Linked DNA regions of Homo sapiens: all the other regions are linked to region 4. The links are contacts of gene promoters, found by promoter capture Hi-C in blood cells and fetal thymus (Javierre and others, 2016). All regions are on one chromosome and are shown on one strand. The core of a region is centred on a gene start or on the middle of the fragment in contact, and the rest is flanking DNA. Distances in the headings are between cores, read along the strand shown. Region 1 has its middle 18 kb from the start of ZNF331. Region 2 overlaps SPACA6 (sperm acrosome associated 6). Region 3 holds the start of ZNF146 (zinc finger protein 146). Region 4 holds the start of SMG9 (SMG9 nonsense mediated mRNA decay factor).

Region 1 (4,487 bases), core at 1,911-4,410, 9.8 Mb after region 4:
CTTGATTGGATTGAAGGAAGCCTAGGCAGCTGGTAAAGGATTGTTTCTGGGTGTATCTGTGAGGGTGTTGCCAGAGGAGACTGATGTTTGAGTCAGTGGATGGAGAGAGGAAGACCCACCCTCGATGTAGGTGGACACCATGCAATTGGCTGCCAGCTCAGGTAGAACACAGAAGGCAGAAGAAGGTGGGATACCTTTGCTTGCTGAGTCTTCTGGCTTTCATCTTTCTCCCGTGCTGGATGCTTCCTTCTGCTTCTCCTGCCCTTGGACATCAGATTCCAGGTTCTTTGGTCTTTGGACTCTTAGACTTACACTGGTGGTTTGCCGGGGGCCCTGTGGCCTCTGGCCACAGGCTGACGACTGCACAGTTGGCTTCCTTGCTTCTGAGGCTTTTGGACTTGAACTGAGCCACTACTGGCTTCTTTTTTCCTCAGCTTGCAGATGGCCTATCATGGGACTGGGCCTTGTGATCGTCTAAGCCAATTCTCCCTAATAAACTTCCTTTCCTATAGACATATATCCTATTAGTTCTGTCTCTCTGGAGAACCCTGACTAATACAAGGCAATTCTCTTTGGTACTGCCCCTTCACTTGGTAGTCAGAGCCATAGACACGCAGGCTCAAGCCACTTCACAAGTCAGTCAATATTGCAAACCATACATAGTAGTGTACTTAATCAATATATATAAATGTTATAGATTAAACATTTCACAATAAACAAAGTAATGTTTAACATCAAGAGAAAAGAGATAGGAGAAAAGGGTTAACAAGTCAGTCCAAGGAGAGTAACAAAACCCTTGGTCAGGGCTGGGCAGGCCCATTGGTCTTGCAAGAAGTCTTTGAGGCTTCAGCAGCAGATGCCAAGTGCTCATCACAAATGACAGCAGGACGGTTGCAGTTAAGATGGTTATTTCAAGCCACTGAAGCCTTGCTCCTTTTATGGCCACAGAGTCCTCTGGGGAGGACAGATGGTGGAAGAATGTGCTTGTTTATATCCTTATCTGGTTGGATGCAGTCTTTATTATTTATTTATTAAGCAAAACATCTTGTCCCTGTTGGCAAAGTGCCCTGTGGAATGCAAGATGGAGTCTTTTTCTAAGATGGAGTTACTTATGTCAAGGGTACTCTATACAGTAGTCTTACCCACACGTTCATAGAAACATACAATCTCATCCATGTCATAATGAAGGCCAAAAACCTCACAGGCGCCCTCCCTTACCTGAGCTCCAGGAGGCTCCCTGATGAGTCCACACAATCACAAATCCAGTCACACCCACCAATGATTCTCTCCCAACAACAGCATATATTTTTTAGGGCAAAGCATCTCACACCCCAGTGTTTGTCTAAATTGCACCATTTCGGAAGCCCCCTGCTCTTTTGCAGACCTTGGTCAAAGTGAAACATTTCACAGGGGTTCAGGCAGTGAGAAATATCCTGCCTAACCACCTGACCACAAGGCGAACAAAGACCCAATTAAAGAAACATTCTCATCATGTCCTACTGGGCAAAGGCCCAACTACAAAAACCATCCCTATCATATCTTTCTTGGCAAAGGTCCAAGGAACATCCTGATGAGATCCCACCGGAAAAAGGGCCAAACCGCCTGATCATAAGAACATCTTGTCAATATCCTGCCGGGCAGCAAGCCATACAGCCCAGGCCTCTCCCGCCCATACCAAGGTAACACTCACAGAGACATCTGAAGAGCCAGGCAGTGCTCCCAAGTCTGGGACAGCATCAGAGAACGAAACGCAAAGTCCTGCCCTTACAGAGAGAGCCTTGGCACAGACCCAGTCAGGACCAGGTCACTCCCGTGGAACCTACTCAAGGTCCCTACACACATGCCTGGAGCTCCCCAATCTACTGGGGGGTGGGGGAAAGGGCAGTGCTGAAACGTCCCCAAAATCTCACATGTAAACACCCTACCTAACACTTTCTAGAGGCATTTCCAGCTCGGGGCTGTATTTCCAAGAACGCTCTGGAGGCACAGCTCTTTTCTAAGGAGGGCCATGTTGCATGCTGGGAAATTTTTGAACTTTTCCCAAATCACAGCTTTTAAGCTTTCCGGGCTTATTATTATTATTATTATTATTTTGAGACATTGTTTCACTCTTATCGCCCAGGCTGGAGTGCAGTGGTGTGATCTCGGCTCACTGCAACCTCTGCCTCCTGGGTTCAAGCGATTCTCTTCCCTCAGCCTCCCAAGTAGCTGGGATTACAGGCACACACCACCACGCCTGGCTAATTTTTGCATTTTTAGAGCGATGGGGTTTCACCATGTTGGGCAGGAGGGTCTCGAACTCCTGATCTCAGGTGATATACCCGCCTCGGCCTCCCAAAGTGCTGAGATTACAGGCGTGATTTCTGGTCGTTTCAGACTACATTTCCTTCCCAGAAGGACGCGGGGACACGCCTTCCCTATGGACGGATCCCAAATGCAAGTTGTAAGCAATTATAACTGTAGGCCCCTAGAGCCTGAACCACTTTTCCCAGGAATTTTTTGTGGTGCGCCTTAGGAGCAAGCAAAGTTTCAGGGCAGGAGAAGGCCGACAGGGCTTCCAGCATTTGAAGATTCTGCCAGTCTGAAATACGCTTTCCCAGAAGTCTATGGGGGGTGCAGCTGCTCTAACAGTGGGAGGAGACACCGACGAAAAGCATTCTGACGGCCGCGCTTCCAGCGCTAAGGATTCCCGCGTAGTGAGCATTTCCCAGAGGTCTCTGGGGCATGGCTCCATTAGGGCCGTGTGCAGTTGCCTGCAGGGAAACACTGATGGGCGCCCTTCCAGATACGTCGATTCCCGGGTTATGAGCTACATTTCCCAGAAGCCCTCAAGGCAGGACGCCCTTAGGGTCGCGTAGAGTTGCATGCTGGGAAATCCTGACAGCCGCTTCCAACTCTGTGGATTTCCGGGTTATGGACTACATTTCCCAGAGGCCTCTGGGTCACGGCTCCATTTGCGCCGTGTAGAGTTGCATGCTGGGAAACACTGACGGGCGCCCTTCCAGCTGCGTCGAAGCTTCTCTGGTTTCGCATTACATTTCCCAGAGGGCCTTGGGGCACAGTCCAATGAGGAGCGAGCCGGGTGGCCGGCTGAGGGGCGTGCTTCATGCTCGCGGGATTTTTAAAAATGGTTTCTCCTGGATCTTATCCCAACTGCGCCTGAGACCTTGTTTCACCTCCTGATGTGCTGGGTGTGGTTAGGCCTCGAGCCGGGAGCTATTTGCCTCCCAGGAGGAAGCCAGGGCAGGGTTCCGCGGGGAATGGCGGTGAGGGAGCCACTCGGGACGCGGAGGCCCTAAAATGAAGAAGCTTCGGCCTGAGGCTTCGGGAGCGGCGAGCAGGGAAGTGGGAGTGTGTGTGAGTGTGTGTGTGTGTGTGTGTGTGTGTGTGTGAATAAGCCAGAGGCTGCCTGGTGGGGCCCCGCCGTGGCCCAGTGACTGAGATAATTGTCTTCGTCTGTGGGGTAATGCGAACAAGCCCCGTTCCCCTAAGCCGTGATGCATGCGGGGTTGACGCGGCCGGGCTCTGTCCCCATAAACTGTGACACAGGTGTGTGTAGACGTCTATGAGGGCCATAGCGCCGGGCTGTAAGGGCATCTGTAGGGGTGACGCAGCCGGGCTGTGTCTCTGCACCTCCGTTCTGTGCGAGGTCAATGCTGGTGGGGTCTGCAGAGGTGGCACGGCCAGGACGGGTCTCCGTGTCTCTGAAATGTGCCTTTGCACTTCTGTCAGGTTGACAGGGACAGGCAGTGTCCCTCTGGTGTGAGCGTCTGTGGGTGTGAAAGGGCCAGCGAGTGTGCGGCTGTGACTGGTCGGGATCGGGCCTGGGTGCATGGCCTTTTGAGTGAGCACAGGTGTGTGCGACCATGTCACCTGTCTTTCTAGTGTCTCCGTTGCTTCCTGTGCCTTGGCCTTCCAGCCATGTGGTACCTGCTAGGGAGCAGTGGTCCCAAAGTGACGTGAGAGGCTCTACGCTATTGTGAAAATGACCAAGAAGAAGGCTTCACAAGTCACGAGATGGCAGTTTTGGAGCCAGAAGTGCTCTCCGTGCACACTACCTGGACGACAAGAGGAAGTAACCTCAAGAATAGAATTCCTTTTGGGGAAGAAAGAGGTACCTGACATGGGAGGCGGGGAGGTGGTGAGAGGGGCAGCTCCATGTTTCAGAACCCCAGTTCCTAGAGTTTTCCAGCATTTCTCTGAAAAACTCACATGCCTGTGCCCTCTTATTTCTGATTGATTTTAACTGTGGTCTGGGGACAAGTGTGCCCTATTTTCTTTCTTTGTTTTTTTTTTTTTTGAGACAGAGTCTTGCTCTGTCGCCCAGGGCTGGAGTGCAGTGGTGCGATCTCGGTTCCCAGGTTCAAGCGATTCTCCTGCCTCAGCCTCCCAAGTAGCTGGGACCACAGGCGCACGCCACCATGCCCAGCTAATTTTTGTATTTTTAGTAGAGACGGGATTTCACCATGTTGGCATAGGTGATCTCG
Region 2 (4,168 bases), core at 1,195-3,694, 8.0 Mb after region 4:
CTCCAGGGGGCGTGGTCTGGCTCGGGGGGCGGGGCTTGTAGGTTACTCAGTGGCAAGCCGGAGTTGAGGCGTTTAAACCCGCGTGTCCCGCAGCTCCGGACTCAGGACTTGTCCTATTTCCGAGATATGCCGCGGGCCGAAGGATACCTGGCGCGGATCCGGCCGGCTCAGCTCACGCACCGCGGGACGTTCTCCTGCGTGATCAAGCAAGACCAGCGCCCCCTGGCCCGGCTCTACTTCTTTCTTAACGGTGGGGCGGGGCGCGGCCGCGTGAGTGAGCGGGGTCGGGAGAGGGGTGGGGCTCGTGCCTGGCTGACGTGCGCGCCCCCGCAGTGACGGGCCCGCCCCCGCGGGCGGAGACAGAGTTGCAGGCCTCGTTCCGGGAAGTGCTGCGCTGGGCGCCGCGGGATGCCGAGCTGATCGAGCCCTGGAGGCCCAGCCTGGGCGAGCTGCTGGCCAGGCCCGAGGCTCTGACGCCCAGCAATCTGTTCCTGCTTGCAGTCCTCGGGGCCCTCGCATCAGCGAGTGCGACAGTGTTGGCGTGGTGAGTTCTGGGGACTCCGGAGCCCCAGCATCTAGCTCCCCGCTGTCTCAGATCCCACCGAGAAGTCTGGGTTCCCAGCAACCTCCAACCCAGGAGGTCAGGCTTTCAGTTCCTCCTCTCTCAGACCCACGAGTCCAGGTCCCAGCCCCTCTTTACTAGCCCAGGAATCCAAGTCCCCAGCCCCCTCCTCCCTTAGATCTAAGAGTCCAGGCCCCCAGCCCCTCCTCCCTCAGACCCAGGAGTCCAGGTCCGCAGCCCCTCCTCCCTCAGACCCAGGATTCCAGGCCCCAAACCCCTACTCCTTCAGACCCAGGAGTCCAAGTCCCCAGTCCCCTCCTCCCGCAGATCCAAGAGTCCAAGCCCCCGGACCCCCTCCTCCCTCAGACCCAGGAGTCCAGGCCCCCAGCCCCTCCTCCCTCAGATCCAAGAGTCCAGACCCCCAAGTTTCTCTTCCTTCAGACCCAAAAGCCCAGGCCCCCTGCCCCCTCCTCCCTCAGAACCAGGAGTCCGGGCCCTGTACACCTTTTTGACCCTGGTGTCCAGGCTCCGGGACCTAAGTTTCTAGTCACCAACCCCTCCTGTAACACACATACCTCTTTGTTTCCCCAGGATGTTCTTTCGATGGTACTGCAGTGGCAACTAACAAAGGTATCTTTCCTCCTTCCCTATCCTATTTCCATCCTGAAAATAAAGAATATATTTCAACTCTAGATTGTTTCATCTCCGAAGGTGGTCACTACTAACTCAGGTAGGAGGAGGTGCAGCAAGCCCACACATGCCCAGATGAATATGGCCCGCATAATGACAGTGATAGGCATAGCTATCCCAGTGCAAGTTAGGTGGGAACCCAGATACCCCCTCAGGTTACTGGCTGTCTCCTTGACATTTCCATCTGCAGAAGGCACCCTCAAATAGAGTCCTCCATGTTGCCCTCAGAGGCTGTTCCTCCCCAAGGCTTTCCTCCTACCAGAAAGAGCAACACCATCCACCTAGCAGTTCAAACCAGAAACCTTGGAATCTAACTTCTCCTCCACTTCCAATTCATTTTCATTTCCAACCCTCAGACTTTTTAACTCCTAAATATCTCATGAAGCTGCCTTCTCTGTGGTCCCAGTCACCCCCACCTCATGTCTGGATCACTGGAGCAGCCCCCCACCACCTCCTTGGCCTCTCTCCACTGTAGCCCATTCTCTACATACCAGCAGGACTTGTTTTATTTTATTTTATTTTTTTGGAGGCACCATCTCACTCCAAGGCCCAGGCTGGAGTGCAGTGATGTGATGTCAGCTCACTGCAACCTCCACCTCCCGGGTTCAAGCGATTCTTCTGCCTCAGCCTCCCAAGTAGCTGGGATTACAGGTGCCCACCACCACACCCGGCTAATTTTTGTATTTTTAGTAGAGACAGGGTTTCACCATGTGGCCAGGCTGTTCTTGAACTCCTAACCTCAAGTGATCCACCTGCCTTGGCCTCCCAAAGTGCTGGGATTACAGGCGTGAGCCACCAAGCCCGGCCAAGGACTTAGGTTTTAAAGTGTGTCAGATTGGGTTACTCCTCTACCCAGAATCCTTTAGTGACTCCCTGTTGCCATTGAGACAAAATCCAATTCCTTGTCAAAGCCTCAGAGGTTCCACAGGTCTGGCCTTTGCTGACCTCACCAGCAGCCTTGTCCCATACCCCTTTCCTCCTTGATCTTGCCACCCTGCGGTTTTTCTCTGGCCTTTCCTCCTTCCTCGCATTCATCATGATACTTCTTGCCCTCTCTAGGGTCTTGGTTCACACTGTTTCCTGCCTAGAATAATATTTTCTCCTTTTTTTTGTCTAGTTAACTCTTATGATTTCCCCTGAGTAGCCATTACATCTATTAACCCCGCTAATCCCCTTGACAAGTCTGCGCGGCTGGCACTGTATTGACTTAACTGACTCTACCTCTCCCTCAGGCCCCTTGCTACTTTCCAGCCCCAGTGGCCTCCTTATTAGGTCCCTGGAACATGCAAGTCTCAGTCCCATTTCCAGGCCTTTGCTGTGCTTCATACTTGAAATGACTTTCCTCTGAGTATCACAAACCCACCTCTCTCATTGCACAGATCCCAGATCAAATGTCTCCTTCTCTAACTACCTCTCTCTCCCTGTTTGACATTGCCCAATTTCACCTTGTTCACTGAGCTCATCTGGACCTAATGTTAACTCTTTTTTTTTTTTGAGTTTCGCTCTTGTTGCCCAGGCTGGAGTGCAATGGTGCGATGTCGGCTCACTGCAACCTCCACCTCCCGGGTTCAAGCGATTCTGCTGCCTCAGCCTCCCGAGTAGCTGGGAACACAGGCATGCGCCACCACACCTGGCTAATTTTGTATTTTTGGAAGAGACAGGGTTTCGCCATTTTGGCCAGGCTGATCTCAAACTCCTCACCTCAGGTGATCCACCTGTCTCAGCCTCCCAAAGTGCTAGGGGATTACAGGCGTGAGCCACCGCTCCCAGCCGTTAACTCATTTTTTAATTTGGTTTTGCCTTTCCTACCTGAAAGGGAAGCTCCTTTTGAGCATGTACTCATTCTTGTTCACTGGTCTATTTCCCTTTATTGATTTGCTCATTCAGCAAATATTTATTGAGTGCTTACTATTTTGTCATGTATTTTCAAGGCACTGTAGAGATCCCAATGAAGAAATCAGAAGAGACAAAAAGTTTGTACAGTACTCACATGGAACTTACATTCTAGTGGACAGTAAAACAAAACTGTTTCTCTCTCTCCCTTTTTTTTTTTTTTTTGTTTTGTTTGAGATGGAGTCCTGGAGTGCAGTGGCACAATCTTGGCTCACTGCAGCCTTTGCCTCCTGGGTTCAAGCAATTCTCGTGCCTCAGTGTCCCGAGTAGCTGGGACTACAAAGGCGTGTGCCACCATGCCCAGCTAATTTTTGTATTTTTAGTAGAGACGGGGTTTCAATATGTTGGCCAGGCTGGTCTCAAACTCCTGACCTCAAGTGATTGCCTGCCTCAGCCTCCCAGAGTGCTGAGATTATAGGCGTGAGCCACCGCGCCTGGCCAGAAAACTGTTTCTCTACTCTCAACATTTCTGACACTACATGTATGGGATTCTACCTCCTGCCCCCATACCAACCAGTTCTCCAACTCTCCCGGACACCAGTTGAGTGTCCTATAATTCATTTAATTCTAAAATCAACAACCCAGGGTTAGCGTCGCACTACACAGGTTTTAAGAGCTCAGGCCCACAAGACTGCCCCCACTTCAGACACCAGTCGCAAGCCAGGGGCTCCTGCAACCTGCAGCCCCCCAGCTCAGTAATTTGCTAGAATAGCTTGAATAACTCAGGGAAACATATTTACTGGTTTATTATAAAGGAGAGTATGAAGGAAATAGCTTAATAGCCAGATGAAGAGGTAGATAGGGTGAGGTCCAGAAGGGTCCCAAGTGCAGAAGTTTCTGTCTCCATGGGAGCTGGGATGCAGCGGCCTGTCAGTGCGTGGATGCACTCACCAGCCTGGAAGCTCTGCAAACCCCATAGTTTAGGGATTGTTCTGGAGGCTGCACCATGTAGGCATGATTGCTTATGAACTTAGTCTCCACCCCTTTTTCCCTCCCCAAGGACTGGAGGGGGCAGCGGGTGAG
Region 3 (4,262 bases), core at 1,171-3,670, 7.5 Mb before region 4:
CCTCAAGGGAAATGTAGTCCAAGGCCTGAGAAGCGACGTTGCTGGTAATAGAAGGTAATTCAGTACCAGCCTGGGCCTGGCCGCGGTGACCGAGGCGGGCCGCGTCGCGGAGACTTCTGGGAGTGCTTCCTCGCTCTCCGAGTGCGCAAGCGCAGCGCACCGAGTGGACATTTTGGTCTTTGTCCGCGGGTCAGTACGGCCCCTGGGTCCACGTGGCGCGAAAGTAGGAGGTGGGATCTGGGCGTCTCGGGTCGGTCGGACCGGGGAGGTTAAAGGGGAGGATTCCTGATCTTTAGGGGCGCGGCGCGAGGGCAGGGAGTGGGTGTAAGAGCTTCTGGCCTACGTGCGGGGCGGAGATGGGGGCCTCTGAGGCGGGTTTGAGCGAGTGTGACCGAGTTTGTCCTCAAAGTTTGACCTGATGTTTGGGATTGTTGAGTGAATGTGAAACTGGGTGCGGGATTGTGTGTGATTGTGCCTAAGAGGGAGATGTAGGAGACCAGCATTGAGGTATAACGTTTGAGCTGCACTTCCCTTGTCGAAAGTGCTGATAATTATAACGGTGCCATCTTCCTGGAGCGTCTTTTTTACTTGAAAATTGAAGGGGTGGAAAAGCTAAGTGGTGAATAATTTTAAAACGAGTTTTTATATAAAAGCATTTCTTTTTAATTGGAGTGGCATGCAAATCACCGTGACTTTTTTTTTTAATTAAACGAGAGTGTTTCGAAGGAACTTTAGTTTCGGGGTGCCTACTTCAGACTATTCAAATCCCCATCTTTGGGGTACTTAAATAGGGCTGTTAAGCAAAGCCCTAGACTAAACAGCATTGTACGCTTTGAGAAGCAATCCCATATAACGGCGCCCAGGATGAGGGAGTCAACGGTTTTAGGTTAGGCACAGTTATCCTCATTTTTTGAAGAAAGCTTAATTGTTGCAGTGTTTATCTATGAGTCTGGACTAAATCCTAGGTGTCTTAATTCCTTAATGAGTCGAGGCGTTCTCAGGTTGTATGGATTTTGTGAAGTAATGGAGAATGCTACTGACGTCTCCAAAGATGCGTTTTCTAAGGAAATCACCCCGCCCCCGCTGTCGTCATTGACATAGTTTTAAATTACAAAAAGTTAAATAAAGTAATTGGGTACCAAGTTAATATCTATAAATAAATAGCCTTCTAATTTACAAATATCAGTTAGAATACATAGTTGAAGAAAACTAATATTTACAATAGCAGTAAAAAGATAAAGTATTGTGGAAGAAACTTAAAGGTTCAGAACTATTAGGAAAGAACTTTAAAATACTACTAAGGGGCATAACAAATGTGAACAAATAAATATACCATGTGACATTAAGAAGTGTGCGCAAACTTAAGTGAATGTATTAATTTACTGTGATCTTGGTCGGGTGCGGTGGCTCATGCCTGTAATCCTAGCACTTTGGGAGGCCGAGATGGGTGGATTACCTGAGATCAGGAGTTCGAGAGGAGCCTGGCCAACATGGTGAAACCCTGTCTCTACTAAAAAAAAATAAAATAAAAAAATACAAAAATTAGCCGGGCGTGGTGGCGGGCGCCTGTAATCTGAGCTACCGCGGAGGCTGAGGCAGGAAAATCGCTTGAACCTGGGAGGCGGAGGTTGCAGTGAGCCCAGATCTCGCCACTGCACTCCAGCCTGGACAAGAGCGAGATTCCGTCTCAATAATAGTAATAATGTGATCCTAATAAAAGTATGGACAGGCTTTTCTCTTTTGGAACTAGGGGAACTGATCCTAGACTTACTATGGAAAGAGACAAGCTGCAAGAGCCAGTACAGACTGAGAAAGAAAAGGCGTTGAGGTGTGGGGAGATGGGGACCCAACACATTTTAAATATAAAGCCTCAGGCCGGGCTTGGTGGCTCACACCTGTGAGCCAAGGCAGGAGGATGGCTAGAGTCCAGGAGTTAGAGACCAGCTTGGGCGACATAGTGAGATCTCCCGTAGTCCTAGCTGCTTGGGAGGCTGAGGTGGGAGGATCACTTGAGCCTAGGAGGTCAAGGCTGCAGTGAGCAGAGATCCTGGCGACAGCATTCCAGCTTGGTGGACAGCCAGTCCCTGTCTTTTTTTTTTTTTTTTTTTTTTTTTGAGATGGAGTCTCTCTCTCTTGCCCAGTCTAGAGTGCAGTGGCCCAATCTCTGCTCCCTGCAACCTCTGCCCCCCAGGTTCAAGCGATTCTCTTGGCTCAGCCTCCCGAGTAGCTGGGATTAGTTGCCTGCCACCACACCCGGCTACTTTTTTTGTATTTTTAGTAGAGACAGGGTTTTACCATGTTGGCCAGGCTGGTCTTGAACTCTTGACCTCAAGTGATCGGCCCGCCTCGGCTTCCCAAAGTGCTAGGATTACAGGCATGAACCACGGTGCCTGGCCGACCCTGTCTTAAGAAAGAAAGAAAGGAGAGAGAGAGAAGAAAGAAAAGAAAAACAGTTCATGCCCATCAGTGGGAGATTGGTGTACATCGATACAACAAAATAATACATAGCTGTACAAAAGAATGAGGAGGAAGCTCTTTATATACTGAGACAGAAATAACTTCAAAATGTATTGTTAACTGAGAGAAAGCAAGGTGCAGAATGTAGAGTATGATACACGATGCATTTGGAATAAGAAAAGGGGTAATAAGAATATGTATTTATAATCCCAGCACTTTGGGAGGCCAACGCAGGCGGATCACCTGAGGTCAGGAGTTTGAGACCAGCGTGACCAACATGGAGAAACCCCGTCTCTACTAAAAATACAAAATTAGCCAGGCGTGGCGGCACATGCCTGTTAATCCCAGCTACTTGGGAGGCTGAGGCAAGATAATTGCTTGAACCCGGGAGGCGGAGGTTGCAGTGAACAGAGATTGCGCCATTGCACTCCAACCTGGGCAACGAGAGTGAAACTCCATCTCAAAAAAAAAAAAAAAAATTCAAAAGATACATACGAAATAATAAAACTGGCTGTTGGGGTGGGGGTACTGGAATAGACAGGGCAAAGGCTTTGTATTTTTAGTAGAGACGGGGTTTCACCATGGTGACCAGGCTGGTCTCGAACTCCTGACCTCATGTGATCTGCCTGCCTCAGCCTCCCAAAGTACTGGGATTACAGGCATGAGCTAATTTTTTTTTTTTTTTTTTTAAATTAAAGGAAGACATAGGCCAAGGAGCCAGACTTCCTGTGTTAACTCCTTCCTCTGCCACTTTTTACCTTGGGGACCTCAGGTAGGTACTTAAACCTTGGGCCTCAGTTGCTCATTTCATAGTATAGAAATAATAGCAATATTTGATTCAAAGGGTGGTTGTGTAGCTCCAGAAGTTAATACATGTAAAGTTCTAAGAATAGTCCCCAGTGTGTAGTAAGTACTTGATTAATGTTAAATACTAGTACTTTTTATTACTAGCTGCAAAAAAAATGCTTCCTCAGAAAATATTATAGTCCTGTGTCTGGTAGGAATTTCTGAAAGAATAAGATATGTAGATGCACTTTTGTTATTAATATTTCTTTTTTTTTTTTGATGGAGTCTCACTGTCGCCCAGGCTGCAGTGCAGTGGCCTGATCTCGGCTCACTGCAGGCTCTGCCTCCCTGGTTCATGCCATTCTCCCGCCTCAGCCTCCTGAGTAGCTGGGACTACAGGTGCCAGCCACCACGCCTGGCTAATTTTGTTTTTGTATTTTTAGTAGAGATGGGGTTTCACCGCGTTAGCCAGGATGGTCTGGATCTCCTGACCTTGTGATCCACCTGCCTCAGCCTCCCAAAGTCCTGGCATTACAGGCGTGAGCCACTGCGCCCGGCCTAATATTTCTATATTTTAATTTTTTTACTTAAAATTTTCTTTTTTTTTGGTGGAGGGGGGGACAGAGTCTCGGTTTGTCGCCCAGGCTGGAGTGCAGTGGTGCTATCTTGGCTCACTGCAAGCTTCACCTCCCAGGTTCACGCCATTCTCCAGCCTTAGCCTCCCAAGTAGCTGGGACTACGGGCGCCCACCACCACGTCCGGCTAATTTTTTGTATTTTTAGTAGAGACGGGATTTCACCGTGTTAGCCAGGATGGTCTCCATCTCCTGACCTCGTGATCCGCCCACCTCGGCCTCCCAAAGTGCTGGGATTACAGGCGTGAGCCACTGCGCCTGGCCACTTAAAATTTTCTGTGGATATTTCCTTTTTTAACTGGAATCAGGAAGTTAGGTTTGTTTTTTGATTTTTGAGATGGGGTCTCACTCTGGCTCAGGCTGGGTGCACTGGTGCGATCACATC
Region 4 (4,063 bases), core at 1,275-3,774:
ATCTGGTCTGCTTTCTGTTTTTGTAAATAGAAAGTTTTATCGGAACATGGCCACATCCATCAATTTAGAAACTGTCTGTGGCTGCCTTCTTGATGCAATGGCAGAGCTGAGACAGACAATACAGTCTGCAGGGCCTAAAATAATTATTCTCTGGCCTTAACAGAAAGTTTTACTGAATGGCCGAGTATGGTGGCTCACACCTGTAATCCCGACACTTTGGGAGGCCGAGACAGGAGGACTGCTTCAGCCCAGGAGTTCGAGACCAGCTTGGGCAACATAGCAAGATCCTGTCTCTATATAACATTTAAAAAAGAAAAAAGTAGCTGGGCGTGGTGACATGCACCTGTAGTCCCAGCTACTTGGGAGGCTGAGGTGGTGGGATCACTTGAGCCTGGGAGGTCAAGGCTGCCATGATCATGCTGCACCACTGCACTCTAGCCTGGGTAACAAAGCAAGACCCTGTCTAAAAAAAAAAAAAAGCAGAACCCTGTCTCAAAAAAACAGTTTGCTGACCCTTGCTTAGCTTGGAAGTATCTGTTAAATCCCTCCATGAATCCTCCCCTGCCCCACCTCATAATGACATAAACAGGTCCCTCCGAGACTCTCCAGAATGGAAGGGTCTGTTTACAAGATGCAGTCATAATTTTGCTAGCCAGACAAGTGGCTTGTCTAGCTCCTCTCCTACTGTGCTACATGACCTCTCCCAGAGCCACAAGCCAGGCTGAAGACTGCTTTCCTAGACAGAGGAGGACAAGGGCCTGTTTACAGCTGCTTAGGGAAAATGACTCATTCCATACCGAAATGACTGCTTAGTCTGGGATGGAGATTCTCCCCAGAATCTGAGACTCCTCCCTCACTTGCAATTAAGTGTCTTTACACATTATTCTGAAATCTACCCAGTGCTTAAGTACTTGTCTTCATGCCTCAATTGGGATACTGCCCAGCCCTGAGGTTTCTGTTTACTGGCCTATGAGGATGCCCTTTCCTGTGCAAAGTAAGCGCCCCTGTGTGAATGCTTTTCTTTTTTTTTTTTTTTTTTTTTTGAGACGGTCTTGCTCTGTTGCCCAGGCTGGAGTGCAGTGGCACGATCTCAGCTGGCTGCGGCCTCTGCCTCCCGGGTTCAGGCAATTCTCCTGCCTCAGCCTCCCAAGTAGGTGGGATTACAGGTGCATACCACCAGGCCGGGCTAAGTTTTGCATTTTCAGTAGAGACGGGGTTTCGCCATGTTGGCCAGGCTGGTATCGAACTCCTGGCCTCAAGTGATTCGCCAGCCTCGGTCTCCCAAAGTGATCGGATTCCCCGGGTAAGCCACCGCACCTGGCCTCCCTGTGCCCTTTATTCTGGGAGCTTCCACAGTATCTGAATGTGGGGAGTTCCTTGGAACTTAAAAGCCCACCTAAACCAGGTGTGGAGGATACAGTGAGCCGAGATCGTGCCACTGCACTCCAGCCTGGGCGACAGAGCGAGACTCTTGTCTCAAAGAAAAAAAAAAAAAACCCCACCCACATGCAAGCTGGGGACTTCCAATGCTGTTTCCGGGCTCCTTTGGGGATTACCCCCAAACTTAGGAAAGCTGGTCTATTTAAGTGTCTGCTGATGGACTTCTAGGGTGACTTCCCGAAAATTAACAAATCGAATTTACATATTTTTGGGGAGTGTCTCCTCAGTATTTAGGCATCGCTTCACACACTCCCTTCGGGGATCTCCCAGAACCTCACTATTTGCAAATATTTGGGGAGACTCTCCCGATTCCTGAGTATGTAAGCCCACTTCGTGGGGCACTCCCCAGCCCAGAACTGTAGTCGATTTGCACATTTTCCTAAGGACTCCCTAGGATTTAAACTTCTCTCTACGGGGTTCTAGAAGGGAGCCTCCCCCGGATTTAGGCATTGCTTTACAAAGCTTCCCTCGGGGAACCCAACTCAAGTTTCTCGTTACACGTTATTGGGGCGGCCTCCCCAGTACTTGACGGGCAGTTTGCAGGCTGTACTTGGATCTCGCAGAGCATAAGTTTCTCATTTACACGTTATTTCCGTCCCCCGCCCCCATTCCTGCCAACCCAGTATCGAATTGACGGTCGCCGGCCCCCTACTCAGTGCCGCACCCCCGCCGGACGTCCCAGCGACCTTTCAATGGCCAAGGCGGGGGCGGGGCCTGCCGGAGCGCCCCGCCCGCCGCCGGTGCGCTAGCCTCGCGCGGGCTCGCGGCCCCCTTACCTAACGCGGCTGCTGATTGGTTCTCGGGGCGCGGTGTGCGCTCTCCCGTGACGGGAGTCGGGTGGGGGCGGGGAGGCTGACCCAAGCCACCCGCCTGCAAATGGCGTCTGGGGGCCAGGAACGTGGGAAGGAGAGAAAATGGGCACTCCCCACTCCGAAACCGGCCTCGGCGTCCGGGTTGCAGCCCCTAAGGAAAGCTGGGCCGAAGGAAGAAGAGGAGGAGGATGTAACGCGGGCCCGAGCTGAGATCAGTTCCCTCAGGCGACTCGTCCTGCGCATGCGCTGAGGGCTGGAGCTCGAGAACTGAATGCGCTCGCCGGGCTGAGCGTGCGTGGATGGAGGCGGTCGGCTTCAGCACGCATGCGGGTTCCGGAGCGGGAGGCGGGAGGACGCCGCGGCTCTGACTCAATGCGCGTGCGCGCGGTTGGGGGGTTGAGGGTGGGGAGATGAGTAGGGAAATGGATACGCCGAGGAGCCGGCAGGAGGGAGAGCGGCCCGGATCTGGGGTTCGAGTTGTGCCTCTTCGGTGATGTTGGCGGGATGCAGTGGGGTGGGACGACAGGGAGGAATTTCACTGTTCTGGGCTGAGTGCCAAGAACACATGAATGAATCAGACTTGGCGTGCGCCCTGGAAGACACCCCGGCCTGTGGAGAGACTGCCAGGGCCTCAAATCACTTAGGAAAGGGCGCGGGTCCGGTTGGACCTTGAAGGACAGGCAGGCGAGGGTACTCCAGGGAACAGCTAAGCAAAGGCGGCGAAGACCCCGGGGGAAGAGGTCTAGACTGGCTTGGATTCAGGGTCCACCTGGGTGGGAGGTGAGGCAGCAGAATGGGCAGGTCAGACCCTGAAGGGTCTCCAGTGTCAGTTTTATCCTTAAGGCCTGGGAGATGCAGAATAGTCTGAGACAGAACTATGTTTAAAACCCTCGAAGGCCGCGTTGGAGAAGGGAATCCGCTCCAGGGTCGAAAATTTAAACACACGTGGGCGGAGTCTTGCGCGCGCCAAAGAGGAACATTGGGCGACGGGCGCGGCCTGGAGAGCGCATGCGCATTCGGAAGGGTCGGCAGTTCCCCAGTGGGCAGAGTGGGTGGATGGGAAGGTTCTAGCTTTTTATTTGAAATTTTATTTATTTTTATTTTATTTATTTATTTAGAGACGGAGTCTCGCCCTGTCACCCAGGCTGGCGTGCAGTGGCGAGATCTCGGATCACTGCCGTCTCCACCTCCTGAAATTCAAGCGATTCTCCTGCCTCAGCCTCCCAAATAGCTGGGATTACAGGCGTCCACCACGCCTGGCTAATTTTTTGTATTTTTAGTAGAGACTGGGTTTTGCCATGTTGGCCAGGCTGGTCTCGAACTCCTGACCTCAAGTGATCCGCCCGCCTCGGCCTCCTAAAGTGCTAGGATGACAGGCGTGAGCCACCGTGGCTGGTCTAAAAAAAAGTTTTTTAAAATTATATTTGAACAGGTATTACATGTACATACACAATTCAAACCTCTCTGGCTGTATACAATAAAAGTAAGTTTCCACCTCTGGTTCCCATTTTCCTTTCCTAAAGCACTGGTTCCCGGTTTCCTTCTGGAGCTGCTGTTATAATAAAGCATTGGAGTTAAGAGCATGTGTTGAGTTCATATAAATAGCGGCTGAGCTTGACCAAGTGACTTAATACTCTCTACTTCTACGTCCCTGTTTGTGAATTGGGTGTGGTATAACCTTACTTACAACATTGCCGCCAGCATTAAATGGGTGAGAGTGCATAGAACAGTGCCTGTTGCCTAATGGTACTGTGTGTTGTCTCTGTGTATTATTTTGTGGTCTACCATGCTGATAGTTGTAGATTCTGAGC

The links. The method cuts DNA at HindIII sites, captures the fragments that hold promoters and counts their contacts. A CHiCAGO score of 5 or more calls a contact.
Region 1: a fragment that was not itself captured here is called in contact with the fragment with the promoter of SMG9 in region 4 in 2 of 17 cell types (total B cells and non-activated CD4 T cells); the score reaches 7.9 in total B cells.
Region 2: a fragment that was not itself captured here is called in contact with the fragment with the promoter of SMG9 in region 4 in 1 of 17 cell types (naive CD8 T cells); the score reaches 6.3 in naive CD8 T cells.
Region 3: a contact is called between a fragment that was not itself captured here and the fragment with the promoter of SMG9 in region 4, in 1 of 17 cell types (naive CD8 T cells). The highest score is 6.2, in naive CD8 T cells.

The regions. Positions count from the first base shown.
Region 1 is chr19:53,517,971-53,522,457 of GRCh38, forward strand. It overlaps a transcript of ZNF331 not described here. Among named protein-coding and RNA genes, the nearest start is that of ZNF331, 18 kb to the right of the region's middle. RefSeq lists enhancers at 1,754-2,528, 2,529-3,302, 2,793-2,992, 3,303-4,076. The HindIII fragment of the contact is 293 bases long and covers 3,015-3,307 here.
Region 2 is chr19:51,703,937-51,708,104 of GRCh38, forward strand. SPACA6 (sperm acrosome associated 6) reads left to right here. Exons shown (of 9, transcript NM_001316972.2): 7 at 94-250; 8 at 334-544; 9 at 1,154-1,254. The coding sequence ends at 1,187. Among named protein-coding and RNA genes, the nearest start is that of SPACA6-AS1, 13 kb to the left of the region's middle. RefSeq lists a silencer at 231-430. The HindIII fragment of the contact is 7,738 bases long and covers 1-4,168 here.
Region 3 is chr19:36,214,967-36,219,228 of GRCh38, forward strand. ZNF146 (zinc finger protein 146) reads left to right here and starts at 140. Exons shown (of 4, transcript NM_007145.3): 1 at 140-230; 2 at 3,156-3,229. It also overlaps a transcript of ZNF565 not described here. RefSeq lists enhancers at 1-83, 194-383. The HindIII fragment of the contact is 3,004 bases long and covers 919-3,922 here.
Region 4 is chr19:43,752,438-43,756,500 of GRCh38, forward strand. SMG9 (SMG9 nonsense mediated mRNA decay factor) reads right to left here and starts at 2,525. Exons shown (of 14, transcript NM_019108.4): 1 at 2,217-2,525. RefSeq lists an enhancer at 1,456-1,715 and a silencer at 1,946-2,305. The HindIII fragment of the contact is 6,293 bases long and covers 1,901-4,063 here.